Linked DNA regions of Homo sapiens: region 1 is linked to region 2. The links are contacts of gene promoters, found by promoter capture Hi-C in blood cells and fetal thymus (Javierre and others, 2016). All regions are on one chromosome and are shown on one strand. Each heading gives the region's core, a stretch centred on a gene start or on the middle of the fragment in contact. The rest is flanking DNA. Distances are from core to core; before and after follow the strand shown.

The links. The method cuts DNA at HindIII sites, captures the fragments that hold promoters and counts their contacts. A CHiCAGO score of 5 or more calls a contact.
Region 1: a contact is called between a fragment that was not itself captured here and the fragment with the promoter of MDN1 in region 2, in 1 of 17 cell types (fetal thymus). The highest score is 10.4, in fetal thymus.

What each region holds. Positions count from the first base shown.
Region 1 is chr6:87,155,919-87,160,429 of GRCh38, forward strand. The region is part of intron 1 of ZNF292 (zinc finger protein 292); the gene reads left to right. Among named protein-coding and RNA genes, the nearest start is that of ZNF292, 2.6 kb to the left of the region's middle. RefSeq lists an enhancer at 466-1,073. The HindIII fragment of the contact is 2,438 bases long and covers 516-2,953 here.
Region 2 is chr6:89,818,379-89,822,339 of GRCh38, forward strand. It overlaps MDN1 (midasin AAA ATPase 1), which reads right to left and starts at 1,416. Exons shown (of 102, transcript NM_014611.3): 1 at 1,128-1,416. The coding sequence starts at 1,229. RefSeq lists enhancers at 1-493, 1,070-1,459, 1,114-1,733, 1,734-2,353. The HindIII fragment of the contact is 1,090 bases long and covers 1,069-2,158 here.

The DNA.
Region 1 (4,511 bases), core at 485-2,984, 2.7 Mb before region 2:
GCAGTTGTGGCGGTTGTTGTCGTCTGCAGCTCCTGGCTGGGGGAAGGGAGTTGCGGTCAAGGCGGAAAATCCCCCCTCCCCTTTCCTTCCCTGAACTCGGGACTGCGCGGTCCCCGCGGCTGAGGAAATGTACACGGTGCGGATTGGAGAGAGTAGGAGAATGGAGGCCAGGTTCTCTTCCTCCTCCTCCTTTTATTGTGCACTGGGGATTACCGCGCCTCCCGCCTCTGCGCCTCTGCTTCCCACTCCGACGGGCCTCCGCCCCCACTGGTTTGATTCCTTTGCCTTCCCCTGCTTTCATCCGTCCCGCCCCCCAGCCCCGGCCCTGTCCTGGCTGTCTCCGGGCCTTTGTTGTTCGAGTTTCGCCTTAGGACTGAAGGGGCCTTTGTTGATGTTCGGAGGAGCAGTCCCCGCCGACCCCTTCTAGTTGAGCTAGACGTTCGGGAGGGGGTGCTTGGCGGAGGTTGTCCCCTCCTGCCCATACTTGCTTGCTTGGTGCATCACTTCTGTGGTAAAGCTTTATCTCCTTAGTGTAGAGGAGCTGTGCCTGTACATCTGTCTCAGGTTGAGTGTCCTTTTGGGGCGGTTTTTCCAGAGTCCGTTTCTCATTTGCTTTCGCCCTTCGAGGAGTATGATTTCCACTATCCTTTCTGTCCCGATCACCCCCTCACCCCTGTTTCTTGGAGTCCTTCCTATTTGGCTTCCTGATGAAGTGGGAGAAGACTGAGGTTCATGTGGATCTGTGCTTTGGGTAGTTTCAAATCTTTTCTTTGCTTGCCCAAGGGCACTGCTCACCAGTGACTGCATTCTAACCAGAATTTGGAATGTTAATAACACTGTTTGCTAGTGATGAAAATCATTTCATCCATGGTGAAAATCGGAGAGTTTGGGACTACATTTGCACTTCATTACGAGCCTTACACTTAGGTTTAAAATTTCAAGGTAGTGTTGCTGGCTCTGGTGAAGACTTTGATTTGATTGTCTTGAGGAGGAAAAAGAAGACACAATTTACACAGGTCATATTTAGAGTTAACTTGTGAGTGTATCATTACAGAGAATTCGTTTTGGAAAAATACTGATCTTAACGTAGAACAATGGTTGACCATTTTAGCTGAGTAGATTACATTTTCACTTATTTTTTAGCTTCCAAATATTGAAATATTTTCTTTATTATGTCGGGGATACGTGATCACATACAAAAGAATCTCCGTTGCTGTATGCACTTTATTGTCACAAATTATTTGATGGCTGTTCATAATCTTAAAAACAAAAACTGTGAGATCAAGTGGTGACGTCTAGGAGGATGTGCAATGTGAAAGCTCCCTACTTAGGTAAATAGGTCTGGTGAGTACCTGTGGCAAAATTAAAGTCTCATTCCTTTGAATTTTAATATTTAAAAATTGTTGAAATTTCTCAGTTTCTCTACTTTGCAGTACCCACTCATTCTTAATTGGTCTTTAAAGATTTATTTTAGAGATAAAAAAATTTCTCTAAGATACCCATAATAGGAAGTATTTCATTTGTAAGTCGAATCAGTTTTTATATAATAATCAGTGAAAACTATTAAAGTCTAGCTTTGCTGAAAGACATTTTCCCCTAATAGTGTCCACTGATAGTTTTAAGGCTAATTACTGTAAATTCTTTTTTTGTCAGCAGTATTTGTAAGCAGGATTAATAATTCTGGGAAAATAGAATCTCATGCAAGCTGGACTCCCCCCCGCTTTTTTGTGAGTGTGTGACGTTGTAAAGTTATCACTTAAAGATTTTTATTTATTTATTTATTTTTGAGATATGGAGTCTTGCTCTGTCACCCGGGCTGGAGTGCAGTGGTGCGATCTCAGCTCACTGCAGCCTCCATCTCCTGGGTTCAAGCGATTTTCCTGCCTCAGCTTCCCAAGTAACTGGGACTACAGGCGTGCGCCACCAAGCCCAGCTAATTTTTGTGTTTTTAGTAGAGATGAGGTTTGGGGTTTCACTGTATGTCGGCCAGGCTGGTCTCGAACTGCTGGTCTCGAACTGCTGACCTCAAGTGATCCACCCACCTCTGTTTCCCAAAGTGCTGGGATTACAGGTGTGAGCACCGCGTCCCGCCAGACTTGAGTTTTTTAATGAGTGAAACAGCATTTTAAAAATCAGAATGAAAGTAATTTCCTATATCAGTTTCATTAAGTGATTAGTCTTGCCACATAAATTGTTATTGATGCTACTGACAAAAAAACATCAAACACTAATGAAACAAATGCTGGATTTGTGGATTTCAAAAATTATAAAATATTTCATACACTGTAAGCTCAGAATAATTTAAATACACTTAAAAGTAATCTCCATTTGAAACGATACAGAGTGTGTCTGATTTCCTCTGGAACATTTTCTGGGGTGGGGTTTTTTGTTTTGTTTCTCAGGTAACCTATTTATGTTAGTGATCTTGTCAAGTGGAGGTAACTTGAAACAATTGTTTATTTATGTTTATTTACAGGGGTGGAGGTGGCTCACACCTGTAATCCCAGCAGTTTGGGAGGCCGAGTTGGGCGGATCGCTTGAGCCTGAGCAGCATGGCGTGGCCCCTTCTCTACAAAAAATACAAAAAACAAAACAAATCAAAAAAATTAGCCAGGCGCTGTGGCGAGTGCCTGTAGTCCCAGCTACTTACGAGGCTGAGGTGGGAGGATCATTTGAACCCGGGAGGCAGAGGTTGCAGTGAGCAGAGATGGTGCACTGTGCACACTCCAGCCCGGGTGACAGAGAAAGATCCTGTCTCAAAAAAATAAAAAATAAAAATAAAATTGTATCTTAGCAATTATCACCTAGCATTTTGATACGAAGTTGAGTGAAGCAATGGTTAACAATTAAAGAATTTATTGGCGCAATCTAAATATAGTACCAGGGATACTAGGAGCTAGAAATTATGTCTTAGTTTCTAACCTTGAGATTATTATTTAACTTTTTCTGTTTAAGCTTTTCCTGTAAAACTGGGATAGTCACACGCTTCAAGAAGGCAAAGATGAATAAACGTTTGTCAAAGTTAATGGGCTTCAGAATTAATATTCTGTCAGTGTTGATGCTCAGTGCTTGTGTAACCCTTAGTTTTGCATTTACTTTAAAAAATGAATTAGTTTACATTCTATGTAATTTTTATGAGCAAAAGTTCAGTTTCTGGAGAATGTGGTGAAACCCACAGAAACAGGAGTTGCTTATGATCCGTAGTTTATAGATTTTTATTTTTGAGTGAGGTAGAAGATTAATAGATTTTTTGAATTCTGAGTAGCAGAATAGAAACGAAAGGCATTAAATGTTTTTCTTATTAACAGTGTTGTTTTGCTCATTCTGGAAATAAGCCACCTGCCCCCCCTTTGCTTATTTAAATGAGAATTTGCTTAAAGCTTAAGTGGGAGGAGGGAAGAGTAAGTAGAGGATGGGCATAGTAGAGCGCCCGTCATAAATTTTAAATTTTTTTATATATTTTATTTTATTTTTGAGAGATGGGGTCTTGCTACATTGCCCAGGTATGATCATAGCACACTACAACCTCAAACTCTTAGGCTCAAGTGATCCTCCTGTCTCAGCTTTCTTTTCTTTCTTTTTTTTTTTTTTTTTTTTTAAAAAAGATGTAGTTTAACTCTGTCACCCAGGCTGGTGTGCAATGGCGCAATCTGGGCTCACCACAACCTCCGCCTCTTGGGTTCAAGCAATTCTCCTGCCTCAGCCTCCTGAGTAGCTGGGATTACAGGCATGTGCCACCATGCCCGGCTAATTTTGTATTTTTACTAGAGACAGGGTTTCTCCTTGTTGGTCAGGCTGGTTCCGCCCCTCTTGGCCTCCCAAAGTGCTGGGATTACAGGCGTGAGCCACCACGCCCGGCCCTGTCTCAGCCTTCTAAGTAGCTGAGACCTCAGGCATACACCACCATGCCCAGCTCTTAAATTTCCTTGTATCTTTTCAAAGTTAGCTTTAATATGGGCAATATAACCAACTCATTTTCTTAAAATTGACTTAGAATAAGTATATAGAATAACCAGAAGTAATTTCTTGCATTTACTTGTTTTAGGATTATTACTGTATTTATTATACAAAAATTGGTTATAATTGGAACCTTTTAGACTAGTTAATTGTATTAGACTGGGCCAGTAGTCACTCATTCAACATTTCTATTGAACATCTACTGTATACAGGCTAGGCAAGGATGATCATGGTCCCTGGCTTCAAAGAGTTTATAGTCTCTGGAGGAAGGTAGACAGATAATCGTAGTAAACTATGATTTATATATTTTATCACTGAGGTGAGTACAGTAAAGAGGGAGGTTATTTGGGAGTTTTAAAAGAAACATTCCAACAGAGGAGTTGTTCTAAAGAGATTTTAAAATAATAGTTCGTTGGAAAAATTGGCCATTGTAATAGTTGATTTGTTGGAGTATGATATTTGCTGACAGCACTATATACTGGACTGGCCGACTGGTTGATTGTAACTGTTATTGACCATTGATCAGTAGTGATCTGGTGGCTGACAGTTGTTTT
Region 2 (3,961 bases), core at 166-2,665:
ATCCCTGCACTTTGGGAGGCCAAGGCGGGATGATCACTTGAGCCCAGGGGTTCCAGACCAGTCGGGGCAACAAAGGGGGACCTTACAACTACAAAAAAAAAATTTTTTTTTTAATTAGCCACACCTGGGACCCAAGTACCTGGGACCACACTCACCTGTCCCGTGGCTCACGCCTGTAATCCCAGCACTTTGGGAGGCTGAGGCGGGTGGATCACGAGGTCAAGAGATCGAGACCATCCTGGCCAACATGGTGAAACCCCGTCTCTACTAAAAATACAAAAAGTAGCTAGGCATGGTGGCGCTCGCCTGTAATCCCAGCTACTGAGAGGGTGAGGCAGGAGAATCGCCTGAACCCGGGAGGCGGAGGGTGCAGTAAGCCGAGATCGCGCCACTGCACTCCAGCCTGGCGACACAGCGAGACTCCGTCTCAAAAAAAAAAAAAAAGTGTCTTCAACTCAGATAGAAGGAGTCAATGAGAAGGTTCTTAAAAGCCCGAAGACCTATTTCCCAGAAAACTCTAATTAACCTTATAATTTGTATAGTTAGTTACAGTGAGTATGAGCTGTCTTGCTCTGTACTTCAGCTGTTGTAAGTGTTTACGAACTGTCTCCAAAAACAGATGCAAATTTCCCTCATGGCAGAGATCGTAACGAATTTATCTATCCACTTTCTCACAGCGCCACACCGTTCCTTACGCACAGCAGGAATGCAATCAGTATTTGTCGATGGTTCCCCAAACTAACAGGAGTGGCTGCACTACGCACACTTAGGTGATACGTACACTTGTCAAAACGGCAGAAACGCAACCTCAATTTCAGAAAAACAAACCACATTCCTTTGGGAAGGCCACCTCTGCCACAAGCAGCCAAAGCGCTTGCATAGGGGTGAGAGGCGATGGGAAGGGTACTGGAAGGCTCCCCCAGATAAAAACAAAAGACTCCTTCCAATCGCCTCAAACACGCTCGGAAACCTCCACGACCTGCGCCAGCCCACAGGAGGGGGCCAGCTTGACCTGAGGCTGCACCACTCCCCACTTAAAGCGGCGAGTATCGGCGGGGGAGCGCAGGAAGCTTACTAGTGGGGCGACCCAGTCGTTCCGGCGCTTTCCCTCTCCCTTCACGTCTTACCTGCTTGGCCAAGAACCTGCCCAACTCACTGCGGCTCTTCTCGTTCTTGGCTGCGATTAACCGCAGCGGCGCGGCTGCCACCTCCAGCAAGAAGTGCTCCATGACCCAGGGCCCTCACCCCGAGCGGCCACCTGCGCTCCCTACTTCGCGGCCAGCGTCCCCAAGCCGCCGAGGTCCCAGTGCCCGAGCAGCCAGCAACTACGCCCGCAGGAAAGGCGTCCTCAGCTCCAGCGCCTACACCGGGAGAGGGGCACCACACGTGGGTGAGCACACGGCGTTTGACGTCATCAGCTCGGGACGGCTACGCTGCGCCCTCCCGGCCTCAGCCCCTCAGCGGCGGAAACGCCAGTCTTCGCTGTCCCGCCTTTTCCGGGAGGGAAATGGAAACAAAAATCTAGTCGGTTTGGATGCAGGAGTGATGGGGACTCGCGAACACAGCACGTGGTGGGACAGAAAGAAGAGTGCGTTAGGCCGGGGAGGAAAGAGGGGGCGTGTGAGTCTCAGCCCACCGTGCCTTGCTTCTGCCTTAACACACGGAAAGATCAGATGTGAGAGAAAAGCTGATTCTCGGCCGGGCGCGGTGGCGCATGTCTTTATCCCAGCATTTTGGGAGGCCGAGGAGGGCAGATCACTTGAGGTTAGCAGTTCGAGACCAGCCTGGGCAACATGGTGAAACCCCCTTCTCTACTAAAAATACAAAAATTAGCCGGGCGTGGTGGCGCGCGCCTGTAGTCCCAGCTACTCGGGAGGCTGAGGCAGGAGAATCGCTTGAACCCGGGAGACGGAGGTTACAGTAAGCCGAGATCGTGCAGCTGCACTCCAGCCGCGCGACACAGCAGACTTTTACTGTCTCAAAAAAAGAAAGAAAAGCTGATTCTCCCCTTCTTGTTAGCGGTGGCAGTTACCCCCTGTATAGGTAGGGGTCAGCAGTAACCTTAGTTCTTGCCTCCTCAGAAGAAATAATTCCACGAAGGGCATAAGGCAGGATAGACCTAGACAAGTTTCAGAATAGAAGTAAAAGTTTATCAAAAAGCTTTAGAACGGGACGGAAAGAAAAGGAGGAAAGTACAACTTGGAAGACTGCCAAGCAGGCGACTTGAGAAACCAAGTGCGCAGCTTGACCTGTTGACTTGAAGTTTTATATGTTGGCATACTTTGGGGAACTTGCATTGCTTCTCCCCACTCCTGAGATCTTACTGGGAAGCTACTGATCAGTTTCAGGTGTTTTCTATTAGGAGACTGCCTTTCGCTGGCCCCGGTGAACGTTAGAGAAACAGTTAAGAACCGCCTGACCATCGTTTGATTGTCACCCAATAGTCCTGGTATGTGTGGGGTGGGGAGCGCTCTCCTGTTCTGCTCATACCTAACTAGTTAACATTCTGCCCCAGCAATTCCCCTTGTAGGACTCTAGCCTGCGGAAATCCTCACTAAGTGTGACAAAGACACCCCTTGCAGTTTTCTTAATACAGATATTGGAAGAAAATGTTCAATTGGGAATATTAAACTATGGGGTGTAAGTTATAGCATATTCTGGAAGTCATAAAAAATAGTAGAGTCCATAACATTAAAAGTGCACTTGTGGGCTGGGCGCAGTGGCTCAAGGCAAGGCAGGCAGATCACGAGATAAGGAGTTGGAGACCAGTCTGGCCAACATGGTGAAACCCTGTCTCTACTAAAAATACAAAAATTAGGGCTGGGTGCCTTGGCTCACGCCTGTAATCCCAGCACTTTGGGAGGCCGAGGCGGGCAGATCACCTGAGGTCAGCAGTTTGAGACCAGCCTGACCAACATGGTAAAACCCTGTCTCTACTAAAAATACAAAAATTAGCCAGGTGTGGTGGTGCATGCCTGTAATCCCAGCTACTCAGGAGGCTGAAGCAGGAGAATCGCTTGAACTCAGGAGACGGAGGTTGTGGTGAGCCGAGATCGTGGGATTGCACTCCAGCCTAGGCAACAAGAGCGAAACTCCGTCTTTTTTTTTTTTTTTTAAGTGGGGCCAGGCGTGGTGGCTCACGCCTGTAATCCCAGCACTTTGGGAGGCCAAGGCGGGCAGATCACCCGAGGTCGGGAGTTTGAGACCAGTCTGGCCAACATGGTGAAACCTTGTCTCTACTAAAAATACAAAAAGCTGGGCATAGTGGTGGGCGCCTGTAATCCCACCTACTCAGGAGGCTGAGGCAGGAGAATAGCTCGAGCCCGGGAGGCGGAGGTTGCAGTGAGCGGACATCGTGCCAGTGCACTCCAGCCTGGGCGACAAGAGCGAAACTCTGTCTCAAAAAAAAGAAAAAGACAAAAAAAAAAATGTAGTTATGTAGTGATAATGCACCCTGGCAACTATTCTCAGGAATCTGTTGAAAGAGATGCGCCCTGAAAAAGGAGGATAAAACCAAGAAAGAAGACGACACGGGATCCAGGAAATAAGAGATTTAGCACAGAAAGAAAAAGTAAAATAACCCTGTCGATCGTAATCCTAATCCACGGGATTATTTTACTTTTAAGTGTTTAAAGTTAAGGGAAATCCCGGAACTTTCATCTGGGCAGCAGCAGGAAGATGAACAGCTCTAGGGTGATTAAATTAATAGAACAGGTTAGTGGTTGCCTGAGTTTGGGATTAGAAGAGAAGACAATGTAAACAGCCAGGAGGCAAAATTTGGGGGTAATAAAAATCTAAGACTGGGCAGGGCACAGTGGCTCAAGCCTGTAATCTCAGCACTTTGGGAGGCTGAGTCGGGTGGATCACAAGGTCAGGAGTTCAAGACCAGCCTGGCCAAGATGGTGAAACCCCATCTCTACTAAAAATACAAAAATTGGCCGGGCACGGTGGCTCACACCTG